Linked DNA regions of Homo sapiens: region 1 is linked to region 2. Evidence: promoter capture Hi-C in human tissues and cell types (Jung and others, 2019). All regions are on one chromosome and are shown on one strand. Each heading gives the region's core, a stretch centred on a gene start or on the middle of the fragment in contact. The rest is flanking DNA. Distances are from core to core; before and after follow the strand shown.

Evidence for each region. Contacts are between HindIII fragments. The study calls those that stand out against the background at their distance.
Region 1: a fragment that was not itself captured here is called in contact with the fragment with the promoter of NPRL2 in region 2 in 1 of the 25 tissues and cell types used here (pancreas).

What each region holds. Positions count from the first base shown.
Region 1 is chr3:49,145,989-49,151,978 of GRCh38, forward strand. No RefSeq gene overlaps it. Among named protein-coding and RNA genes, the nearest start is that of LAMB2, 16 kb to the left of the region's middle. The HindIII fragment of the contact is 6,447 bases long and covers 338-5,990 here.
Region 2 is chr3:50,347,944-50,354,248 of GRCh38, forward strand. NPRL2 (NPR2 like, GATOR1 complex subunit) reads right to left here and starts at 2,832. Exons shown (of 11, transcript NM_006545.5): 1 at 2,632-2,832; 2 at 1,988-2,079; 3 at 1,722-1,890; 4 at 1,443-1,551; 5 at 931-1,067; 6 at 742-839; 7 at 584-620; 8 at 374-467; 9 at 181-298. The coding sequence starts at 2,709. CYB561D2 (cytochrome b561 family member D2) reads left to right here and starts at 2,919. Exons shown (of 4, transcript NM_001291284.2): 1 at 2,919-3,041; 2 at 3,466-3,617; 3 at 4,066-4,103; 4 at 5,298-6,126. The coding sequence starts at 3,491. The coding sequence ends at 5,801. LOC127898564 (CYB561D2-LOC101928965) reads left to right here and starts at 2,919. Exons shown (of 5, transcript NR_183066.1): 1 at 2,919-3,041; 2 at 3,466-3,617. RefSeq lists an enhancer at 2,874-3,093. The HindIII fragment of the contact is 1,502 bases long and covers 2,411-3,912 here.

The DNA of each region.
Region 1 (5,990 bases), core at 2,311-4,810, 1.2 Mb before region 2:
GTTCACGCCTGTAATCTCAGCACTTTGGGAGGGCGAGGCAGGTGGATCACCTGAGGTCAGGAATTCAACACCAGTCTGGCCAACATGGTGAAATCCCGTCTCTACTAAAAATACAAAAAAAAATTAGCTGGGCATGGTGGCAGGCGCCTATAATCCCGGCTACTCCAAAGGCTGCAGCAGAAGAATCGCTTGAACCCAGGAGGCAGAGGTTGCAGTGAGCCGAGATCGTGCCATTGCACTACAGCCTGGGCAACAAGAGCGAAACTCTGTCTCAAAATAAATAAGTAAATAAACAAACAAAGAGGCCGGGTGCAGGTGGCTCATGCCTGTAATCCCAGGACTTTGGGAGGCCGAGGCGTGCAGATCACCTGAGGTCAGGAGTTCAAGACCAGCCTGGCCAATGTGGTGAGACCCTCTCTCTACTAAAAACACAAAAATAAAATAAAATAAAATAAAACAAAACTAGCCAGACAAGGTGGCCAGCACCTGTGATCCCAGCTACTGAGGAGGCTGAGGCAAGAGAATCGCTTGAACCTGGGAGGCAGAGGTTGCAGTGAGTCAACATTGTGCCACTGTACTCCAACCTGGGTGACAAGAGCAAAACTCCATCTCAAAAAATAAAATAAAATAAAATAAAATAAAATAAAATAAAATAAAATAAAATAGGCCAGGCGTGGTGGCTCACGCCTGTAATCCCAGCACTTTGGGAAGCCGAGGCGGGTGGATCATGAGGTCAGGAGATCGAGACCATCCTGGCTAACACGGTGAAACCCCATCTCTACTAAAAATACAAAAACAAAAAATTAGCTGGGCGCAGTGGCAGGCACCTGTAGTCCCAGCTACTTGGGAGGCTGAGGAAGGAGAATGGTGTGAACGTGGGAGGCGGAGCTTGCAGTGAGCCAAGATAGCGCCACTGCACTCCAGCCTGGGTGACAGAGCAAGACTCCATCTCAAAAAATAATAATAATAATAAAATAAAATAAAATAAAAAAATAAAATTGGCCAGGCACAGTGGCTCATGCCTGTAATCCCAGCACTTTTGGAGGCCGAGGTGGGCGGACCATGAGATCAGGAGATGGAGATCATCCTGGCTAACACAGTCAAACCCCGTCTCTACTAAAAATACAAAAAAATTAGCCAAGCATGGTGGCGGGCGCCTGTAGTCCCAGCTACTACTCAGGAGGCTGAGGCAGGAGAATGGCATGAACCCAGGAAGCGGAGCTTGCAGTGAGCCAAGATTGCGCCACTGCACTCCAGCCTGGGCAACAGAGTGAGACTCCATCTCAAAAAAATTAAAATAAATAAAATAAAATTTATGTCTCTGAGCCAGGCGCAGTGGCTCACACCTATAATCCCAGCACTTTGGGAGGCCAAGGTGGTCAGATCACCTGAGGTCAGGAGTTCGTGACCAGCCTGGCCAATATGGTGAAACCCCAACTCTACTAAAAATACAAAAATTAGCCGGGTAGCCAGGTGCGGTGGCTCAAGCCTGTAATCCCAGCATTTTGGGAGGCCGAGTTGGGCGGATCACAAGGTCAGGAGATTGAGACCATCCTGGCTAACATGGTGAAACCCCACCTCTACTAAAAAAAAAAAAAAAAAAAAAATTAGCCAGGTATGGTAGCATGCGCCTGTAGTCCCAGCTACTCAGGAGGCTGAGGCAGGAGAATCGCTAGAACCTGGGAGGCAGAGGTTGCAGTGAGCAGAGATCACATCACTGCACTCCAGCCTGGGCAACAAGAGAGAAACTCCATCTCAAAAAATAAATAAATATATAAAAAAATTTTAAAAAGGCCAGGCGCAGTGGCTCACACCTGTAATCCTAGCACTTTGGGAAGCCGAGGCGGGCGGATCACGAGGTCAGGAGATCGAGACCATCCCGGCTAACACAGTGAAACCCCGTCTCTACTAAAAATACAAAAAATTAGCCAGGCATGGTGGCGGGCGCCTGTAGTCCCAGCCACTCGGGAAGCTGAGGCAGGAGAATGGCGTGAACCCAGGAGGCGGAGCTTGCAGTGAGCCGAGACAGCGCCACTGCACTCAGGCCTGGGCAAAAGAGTAAGACTCCGTCTCAAAAAAAAAAAAAAAAAAAAATTAGCCGGGTGTGGCAGTGGGCACCTGTAATCCCAGCTACTCAGGAAGCTGAGGCAGAACTGCTTGAACCTGGGAGGCGGAGGTTGCAGTGAGCTAAGATTGCTCCATTGCACTCCAGCCTGGGTGACAAGAACGAGACTCCCTCTCAAAAAAAAAAAAAAAAAATTATGTCTCTGCCAGATGTAGGGTGCAGCCCCTAGGACATCACTGAATGCAGATGGATGAAGCTTCCCTCAGTCCTCCACACTCCCTCTTGGTCTGCCATAGCCTGTGTCGTGGAGTAGCAGCATGTTCCTGGATCAAAGCAGAAAGTCTGTATAGAACCACAACCCTGCAGTGAATGGGGAGAGGAGAAGAGGTGAGGTGATGCTGCAATGATCATGTGGTCCCAGAGATGCCTCCATGCTTCCTTCCTTCCTTCCTTCTTTCCTTCCTTCCTTCCTTCGTTCCTTCCTTCCTTCCTCCCTCCCTCCGTCCTTTCTTTCTTTCCTTTTTCTTCTTCTTTTTTTTTGATGGAGGCTCGCTCTGTCGTCCAGTCTGGAGTGCAGTGGCGCGATCTCGGCTCAGTCCCACCTCAGCCTCCCGAGTAGCTGGGAGTACAGGTGTGTGCCACCACGCCAGGCTAATTTTTGTATTTTTAGTAGAAATGGGGTTTCGGCCGGGTGCGGTGGTTCATGCCTGTAATCCCAGCACTTTGGGAGGCTGAGGCGGGACAATCACAATGTCAAGAGATCGAGACCATCCTGGCCAACATAGTGAAACCCCGTCTCTACTAAAAATACAAAAATTAGCTGGGCATGGTGGTACGCGCCTGTAGTCCCACCTACTTGGTAGGCTGAGGCAGGAGAATCGCTTGAACCCAGGAAGTGGAGGTTGCAATGAGCCGAGATCGTGCCACTGCACTCCAGCCTGGTGACAAAGTGAGACTCCGTCTCAAAGTCTCAAAAAAAAAAAAAAAAAAAGCCACGCGCTGTGGCTCACACCTGTAATCCCAGCACTTTGGGAGGCTGAGGCGGGCAGATCACCTGATGATGAGAGTTGGAGACCAACCTGACCAACAGGGAGAAACCCCATCTCTACTAAAAATACAAAATTAGCTGGGTGTGGTGGCACGTACCTGTAATCCCAGCTACTCAGGAGGCTAACGCAGGAGAACTGCTTGAACCCGGGAGGCGGAGGTTGCGGTGAGCTGAGATCCCACCATTGCACTCCAGCCTGGGCAACAAGAGAGAAACTCTATCTCAAAAAAAAAAAAAAAAAAAAAAGCAGGGCGCGGTGGCTCACGCCTGTAATCCCAGCACTTTGGGAGGTCGAGGCAGGCGGATCATGAGGTCAGGAGATCGAGACCATCCTGGCCAACATGGTGAAACCCCGTCTCTACTAAAAATACAAAAAATTAGCCGGGCGTGGTGGCGGGCACCTGTAATCCCAGCTACTGGGGAGGCTGAGGCAGGAGAATTGCTTGAACCCAGGATGCGGAGGTTGCAGTGAGCCAAGATCGTGCCATTGCACTCCAGCCTGGGCAAAAAGAGCGAAACTCTGTCTCAAAGAGAAAAAAAAAAAAGAAACAGGGTTTCACCATGTTGGCCAGGCTGGTATGGAACTTCTGACCTCAGGTGATCCGCCCACCTTGTCCTCCCAAAGTGCTGAGATTACAGGCATGAGCCACTGTGCCCAGCTGGGATGCCTCATTTCTATTGTGCACTTAGTGAGCCCAACATTTCATCATGAATGGAAAAAGACCAACTTCTTAAATCCTGCTTTATTGTTAAACTAAGTACCTGTTTTGCTTGTTTTACGACATGATGATATGCCATACTGACGGTTTGGTGTGTTTCAAATGTGTGGGCAGCATAATGGGGTCCTGGTATTGGGAGTGACAGGGTTGGGGGTCACAGGGTCTTGCCTAGCTGTGTGCACGAAGCAGGGCCACCTGAAACAGCTGCTCTGAGGGCAGCAGATGGGCACAGTGGGTGCTGCTGGGCAGGAATTGGGCACAGACACTGACTAATGCCTGACAGTCTTCAGGTTCCTGGGGTTAGGGGTCAGCAGTCACAGAGCCACTCCTATCCATCCCTACCACCACCCATCCACACTCCTGACATCCACACCACTGACCTAGGTTTCATAGAGCAGGACAATGTCATACTACAGGGCATGAGGCACCAATGGGCACCAGGAGAGAAGGGCAACCCTCACTGACCACATGGGCAAAGTCAAGCCAGTCCAAAATACAGGACCAGCTGCCCATGCAGGGGAAAGGGCTTTTCTGGGGCCTGCATGTGAGACACAGACTTCCCATTCCAGGACCTACGACCCTCAGGGCTTAGACTCCCATTCCCTCAAGAACCCAAGGATCTGTATTCCCAGGCCCTTATCCCTCTTAAGATCCTAGTGACCTGTGACTTCATCTTGTTCCCCAGACTCCTCACTTTGGGCAGCTGGTGCCTGTAATGGTCTTGCCAGACAGGGTGGAGGGCACATCAAGGGTCATGCTATCATCCAGGTGTGGTGGCTCATGCCTGTAATCCCAGCACTTTGGAAAGCCAAGGCGGGCAGATCACCTGAGGTCAGGAGTTCGAGACCAGCCTGGCCAACAAGGTGAAACCCCGTATCTACTAAAAATACAAAAACTAGTCACGTGTGGTGGCAGGCACCTGTAATCCCAGTGATTTGGGAGGCTGAGGCAGGAAAATAGCTTGAACCCAGGAGGCACAGGTTGCAATGAGCCAAGATCATGCCATTGCACTCCAGCCTGGACGACAAGAGTGAAATTCCATCTCAAAACAAACAAACAAACAAACAAAACAAAACAAAAAACAGCGTGATGCTATCTCTGAAGTCGGGGCTGAAGCCAGTCAGAGGCAGTCCCTGGGGCTTCTGTACAGTGGAAAGGAGCAGGCCAGGGGGCTCCCTCGAAGGAAGTGGGAGTCCTAGTCCTTTCCCATACTGTCCTGGGAATAATATGGCCTCTGTCCAAGACACTGAACTTTTGACCATGCTGACACCCATACCTGGATTTCCAAGTCTTTCCAACCCTGCTCAGACTCTTCCTCCAAATAGTTATCTGGACGTTCACTTCTTCCAGTGAGCCCCAGTGTCTGAGCTTTGATTTCTTTCTGCTTCTGACCCTCCTGATACTTATACTTGCTGGAGAACCTGGCCAAGTTTGGCTTCAGCTGTGGCCAAGGGCAGCACAGAAATACCCAGATTAGACCAGGCGCCATGTGGCACGCCTATAATCCCAGCACTTTGAGAGGCCAAGGTGGGCGGATCACCTGAGGTCAGGAGTTCGAGACCAGCCTAGCCAATATGGTGAAACTTCGTCTCTACTAAAAATACAAAAATTCGCCAGGTGTGGTGGTGCATGCTTGTAATCTCAGCTACTCGGGAGACTGAGGCAGGAGAATCGCTTGAACCCGGGAGGCGGAGGTTGCAGTGAGCTGAGTTTGTGTCATTGCATGCCACCCTGCCTGGGCGACACAGCAAGACGCTGTCTCAAATTAAAAAAAAAGAAAAAAAAAGAAAAAGAAATACCCAGATTAGTGCTCATGGCAGTGGCAGCCACAGAGGTGGGGGTGGGATATGCAGAGACTCACCACTGCAGAATACCTGAGGGAGCACAGAGGTGAGGAGGGGTCAGGGTGAAGTCTTGATTCTTGCCATTTGACCATGAATTCCAGGCCCCGCCCTGTACCTGTTACTGTAGCATCTGCAAAGTTAAAGTCACAGGGCCAGCAGCCTGGGTGGGGGCGGGGTCACTGCCCAGACCCTAGAACTCAGGCTGTAGGAGACTGTAGTTGGGTTGGGGAAGGCAAGAAGATCTGGACAGGAAGAGGAGGGGAGGGGCCTGATAAGTCTTATATTGGGTCTGCCTATGGTGGGAAAAGGGGTGA
Region 2 (6,305 bases), core at 1,582-4,081:
CTTCTTTCAGGCAGGCCAACCCTTTCCTGTAGTCTCCCTTCAATTTTGTCTCTGTAGCCCATCATCTCCAGGAAGCCTGCTTGGATTGGCAGTGCCCCATGATCCAGGGCTCCTGAGAGACATAAAGGGTCTAGCTTCCCTCAGGTAACTCCCAAATGCCCCAGCAAATTCTCCTCTGACCGTTCATCAACATGCTGCAGCTGCTGGGGGTGGCGGCCAATGAGGTCTCGCACGGTAGTGCCAGGGCTCAGGCTGCAGTATAGCTGGAACACATCCCGGAGACTGGCCCTCTTGTGCCCTGTGGGTGCCAGGGATCAGCTCATCATGTGGCCCTGCCCTCCCCAAGATGGCTTCCCCCAGAACCCACCACTACCTTGCTTGGTCACGTAGGATAGACATGCCTCTTGCAGGGACTTGTCATCTACCAGGTCCTGGACCTTGGGCGTTGGGCAGTATACATTGGAGTACTAGAGGGTAGCAGAAGGCATAGGGGCCTGAGTGAGGGGCTTGGGAAGCTGACACAGCCCTGGTCTGGTCCAGCCACATGATCCACTCTCCACTTAACCAAACCCAACTCACCTACCTGGAGGATGGACACCAGTGTCACAACGCCGTAGTACCTGAGAGAGAGAGCTGTGCTCAGCTTCTGAGGACCATGCCTTCCCAACCCTCACACCCAGGGCCCCTGAGGTCTTCCCTGGCTGGTGACCTTGTCCCAGGTATGACTGTAGGCCCACTCACAGCAGGTTCTGGATAGCAATGCGCACCAGGTTGAGCTCCACATCTGCCTCTGCTGAAATCTTCTGGATGTGGCGGAACCCATCAATGTAGGGCAGGATCTGGGCAGAGTGGGACAAGGTCAGAAGAAACAGGATGAGGCCAGGGCTGTGGCCAGCCCCAGGTGATGATACCCAGGGAGGGATGGCATACTTGTTGTGTAGTGAGGTCCCACTGTGAGTTGAAGAAATCCTCCTTGTCTTTGGTAAAGACAGGTACATCATACTCCTGGGCCACCGGAGGGTCTGGCCGCTGCTCAATCACCTTCAAGTGGATGGTGTTGGACTCATCTGCAGGGGGCCCCATCCATATCCTCAGTGCCACTTCTTCCAAGAGGTCCTCAATTACCATCCAGGCCTCCCAGCATCCCTTGGGGCAAGCAGGTGCCTCTGGGTAGGGCTAATCTTTCTCTTTTTATGGAGTGAGAAACGGAGGCCCACAAAGGGGAAGGAATTGCCCAAGGGGCAGAGCTGGAGAGCTCTGCTTTCCCCCTACCCCCAGTCCCAGCTCCATCATGCATTGGACCCTGGACATGGGCACCTCAGCCCATGGCTATTTCCTGCCCACCAATGTGTTCATGAGTCTTGCCCTTCTCCCTGACTAGCTGGGTTCACTTTCCCATCTCTCCTCTACCCCTCTGCTGTCCTTGCAGAGGCTGGCCATACCAATGGGCAGAGTGCACCGGCCTGAGGCATTTAGCTCCTCCAGCAAGATGGTCATGATGGGCACCAACTTCTGCTTGCTCTCCTCCATGGACACGAAGCTGCTCTCTAGCTAGACAGAGCATGGAAAGCATGGTGGGCACATCCCAGGACCCCTGGCTGGTTGGCTGCCCTGAGTCCTGAGCTGGTTTGCAGGGTCCCAGGTTTGGGGGACTTTGGAGACATGGGAACACCTTCCCCAACTCTGCCTGTCGGTAAACCCAAGCCCATCTCATTGCAGACCTCTAGTGTGGTCAGATAGCCAGCCAGCTTTTTAACAATGGGCTCGAGGGCGCAGGTCTTGGCCTGGGCATCACACACGAAGCCCAGGTTGAAGAGGAGAGCATTGCGGCTGTACTTCTTGTGTTCGATGCACACAGGACAGCCGATCAGCTTCTTTTCCATAGCTGTGCTGGATAATTGGAACACAGTCAGGCCCCCAAGCCTGTCCCTTCCTCCTCCTGGGACAACCCCTGCCACCCACCGCTCACCCCGAGCTAGGGTCTCACACAGTGATAAGCTTGTTCTGCAGCTCTGGCTTGGTGATGATGTACACTTGGACTGTGTCAAACAGCTCTCGGGAGATGAAGTCTTCAGGGACCTGGGGAGGGGAGTGGCAATGGGCCCCTCAGTGGACATCTGTACTGGGTGTAGTACAAATGGTGACCTCCTCATGCCCCCCAAGCCCAAGTCCTCTTCTCCAGCGTTCCCCTCTCTCCCATCCACTCAGGCCTATTACTTCTTTCTGTTTCCAAACATACGCTATGATCTCACCTCCTTCCTGGCTTCTGCATATGCTGTTCCCTCTACCTGGAACACTTTCTCCTGCCTTACCTAAACTTCCTATGCATCATTTACTCTTCACTCAGTTCAGGGATACTCATGGGTCACCCAACTCACCTTCTGTGGGACCTGGAACCCCCCAACCGGATCCCTACAGCCCGATATCCTACAAACACTGCCAATGTGACGTATGTCTTCCCTGCCACATTGGGAGCCGGGGGCCTGGGTCTGACTATCCTCTAGCCTCACAGTTGTCTGCGAATGAAGCAGCATGCCTGCGTGCAGCACGGGAAACTACTGCCTTCAGGCAGCCAGTTGAGCTCTCGAGAACGTCCCTCTTCCCGCCCAGTCCCGCGAGCCCGGGTGGCACCTGATAGGTGATCTTGGGTCCCAGCGTGGGGTGGAACTCGCTGAAGAATATGCATTCGATGCGGCAGCCGCTGCCCATGGCAATAACCGGGCCCAGGCCCGTAGCTCCTCGTTCCTCGCGCAGAGGCGTCCCCACCTCCTGTGAACACTTGTCAGAGACAGCCTCGAGGCCTGTGTCGCTGGGGCACGCAAGCTTGCCAATCCCTCTGCCCAATGGCGCCTGCGCAGCGCGACTCAGAGGCGTGGCTGGGGCGGGGGACGGCTCGTCCCAGGAAGTCCTGGGTGGGTAGACGTCGCACCCGGAAGTAAAGCGGCTCCGTGACGGAGCGGCGGTGCGCGCGGCAGGGCCCGGAGTATCCCGCTTTCTTTGGAGGAAACCACCGCATCAGATCTGCGCTGCGGCAGAGGCAGGCAAGTCCCTAGCGTGGAGGGGCAGCATGCTGGCAGCACTTGGGGAGGCGGTGCGCTAAGGGATTCACGCTGTAACTGGGACCGCAGCAGGGAACTACAATTTCCATAGTGCTCCGCGCCCTCCCAGCTGGCTCTACTGCCGGCGACGGCGTGGTACACGCTGGGATTTGTAGTCTTACATGGCTTTGCGCCTCCTACCTGGAAGGCGGGCCAGCGATTGGTACCAGTTCAGACATGGGTACACGTTGACAGGCCGCCGGCCGTCGACTGGCATGTTGTGACCATTCCTGGTGCTGGTCTTGGTACTGTTCTTTCCTACCATAACTTATTGGAAGAGGGTGGCATTCCTGCCTTGCAGCCTTTTCTCCAGTGAGGAGTGAACAGTGGGCACCTGAGATCCTGGCCCACGCTACTATGCTTTCAGGCTACAACCACTAGCACGGCTGACGATGGCCCTTTCTGCGGAGACCGAGTCACACATCTACCGAGCTCTGCGTACTGCTTCTGGCGCTGCCGCCCACCTTGTGGCCCTGGGCTTTACCATCTTTGTGGCTGTGCTTGCCAGGCCTGGCTCCAGTAAGTAGAATTCATAGCTGACTTCTGGGAAGGGAAGGGCCACTGTTCCTGGGGAGGAAGGGCAGTGGGACTTCCGGGAACAGGCCTGGCTGGTTGAGGGAATTCTGTGCTGGAGCGATGAGTGAGGTGGAGCAGGTAGGTATGGCCAGGGCACACAGAATTCCTGGTTTGTCTTTCCTTCTCTGGGTGCTCCATTTGGCTGCCTCTCAGGAGGTGTAAGGGAAGGAGGGAGGACTGCCAGAGGAGTGGCAAAGCATGGCCTCTGATCCAGGAAGAGGCCAGGAAGAGAGGATAGGTGTGGGGTCAGCTTGTTGCAGAGCAAGAAGGGGCTCACAGTTTGGCAGCACCTCCTTGGGTGATGGGCTGCTGGTATTCCTCAACCCTTAAGGATTGGTATGGCTGGTTTCTTCTTGCCTCAGCCCCATGAGGCCTCCTCTTCTCATTCCAGGCCTGTTCTCCTGGCACCCGGTGCTTATGTCTTTGGCTGTAAGTAGTGGGCCTGGGCAGTTCTTAGGGGTGGGAGCATGGGCATGGTTGGTGGCCCTGGCAGCCTCTGAATCTTTGTCCACATTTAATATCTGTTTGGAAGAGTTGCATGCTCCAACTACTCCTGCCCATGGTATATATTTCAGACTTGAGGCTGGGCACGGTGGCTCATGCCTGTAATCCCAGCACTTAGAGGCCGAGGCGGGCACATCACCTGAGGTCAGGAGATCGAGACCATCTTGGCCAACATGGTGAAACCCCGTCTCTACTAAAAATACAAAAAATTAGCCGGGCATGGTGGCACGCGCCTGTAGTCCCAGCTACTCGGGAGGCTGAGGCAGGAGAATCGCATGAACCCAGGAGACGGAGGTTGCAGTGAGCCAAGATTGCGCCACTGCACTCTAACCTCTAACCTAGGCGACAGAGCGAGGCTCTGTCCCAAAAAAAAAAAAAAACCCAAAAACAAAAAAACCCCCCAAAAAACCAAAAATTAGCTGGGTGTGGTGGCAGGTGCCTGTAATCCCAGTTACTCAGGAGCCTGAGGCAGGAGAATTGCTTGAACCCGGAAGGCGGAGATTGCAGTGAGCCGAGATCAGGCCACTGCACTCCAGCCTGGGTGACAGAGAGAGACTATCTCCAAAAAAAAAAAAAAAAAAAAAAAGAGACTTGAATCAGAGTAATGAAGACCCAGGACCCAGGTCAAATGGGTAAGATTTGTCTAAGCACAATGAGGCTTCACCCACCTCTAGGCAGAAAGCTGAGACATTGCATTTGGATGTACCTCTGTCCCTTTTTACTTTAATTTCTGGTGATGCACCTAACTTTCCCTGAAACAGTGCACCCATGTGGCCAGCTCTTGCCAAGAAATTGTATCCAGCCCCACGTTAGGGAAACAAAGCTTGTGAATCATTTATAACTGCCACATCTCAAACCCTGTGTTTGCTTGGTAACATACGACAGATGACATTTCAGACTGGCACCTAGGAGGAAGTGTGGAGATTATTCAGGGCACATATATCATCCCAGATGGGGTTTTCCACTCTTGCCCCACCAAATGGATAGTCTTGTCAGTGGGGAGAGAAAGAAAAAGGGGAATCAGCCCAGACTCACTGGCAGCTAAGGGTTACATAAAGCCCTCTTCTCCTCTTCTGGGGCAGCACCCTCACTTGAGCTTCCCATCCCCTGTTTCCTCAGTTCTCCTTCCTGATGACCGAGGCACTACTGGTGTTTTCTCCTGAGAGTTCGCTGCTGCACTCCCTCTCACGGAAAGGCCGAGCACGCTGCCACTGGGTGCTGCAGCTGCTGGCCCTGCTGTGTGCACTGCTGGGCCTCGGCCTTGTCATCCTCCACAAAGAGCAGCTTGGCAAAGCCCACCTGGTTACGCGGCATGGGCAGGCAGGGCTGCTGGCTGTGCTGTGGGCAGGGCTGCAGTGCTCAGGTGGGGTGGGGCTGCTCTACCCCAAGCTGCTGCCCCGATGGCCCCTGGCGAAGCTCAAGCTATACCATGCTACTTCTGGGCTGGTGGGCTACCTGCTGGGTAGTGCCAGCCTCTTGCTGGGCATGTGCTCACTCTGGTTCACTGCCTCTGTCACTGGTGCAGCCTGGTACCTGGCTGTATTATGCCCTGTCCTCACCAGCTTGGTCATTATGAACCAGGTGAGCAATGCCTACCTATACCGCAAGAGGATCCAACCATGAGCTCTTCCCAGCCTAGGGGAAGCCTGGATTTGCCCCTCCATGTAGGAGCTGGGCCTAGGGACCTGTTGAACTCTCTCAGCTGAGTCAGGGGACACCTCAGGCACTGGGACAGTTGGGCATTTGGAGGCCCGTGTGTGAATTCCTGCTCCTCATGCTGGAGTGCCTCCCATTTCCTTCCCCTTTCTCTGTCATCCCAGAGGAACATAGGCATCATGTGTCTGGATGAAGCTGGGGCTGCAAGACTGCCTCTCCTGCAAGGCAGCTCATACTTGTACTGTATGTTCAGAAATTTTAGGAGAGAAAAAAGTAAAAAATTTGTAAAAAATGACTGAAAAGATTGATGGGAGAAGCAGCCCAGAGTTGGGGATGGTTCTTGTTAATGCCATCAGCACAGGAAAATGGGCAGCTGGGCAAGATGGGGACCCCCCACCCCCGACCCCTGGCTGCTCCCTGAGGGGCTGAAGCTCTCCTAGCACACAAATCCCCAGGGTCTAGCTGCTGAGC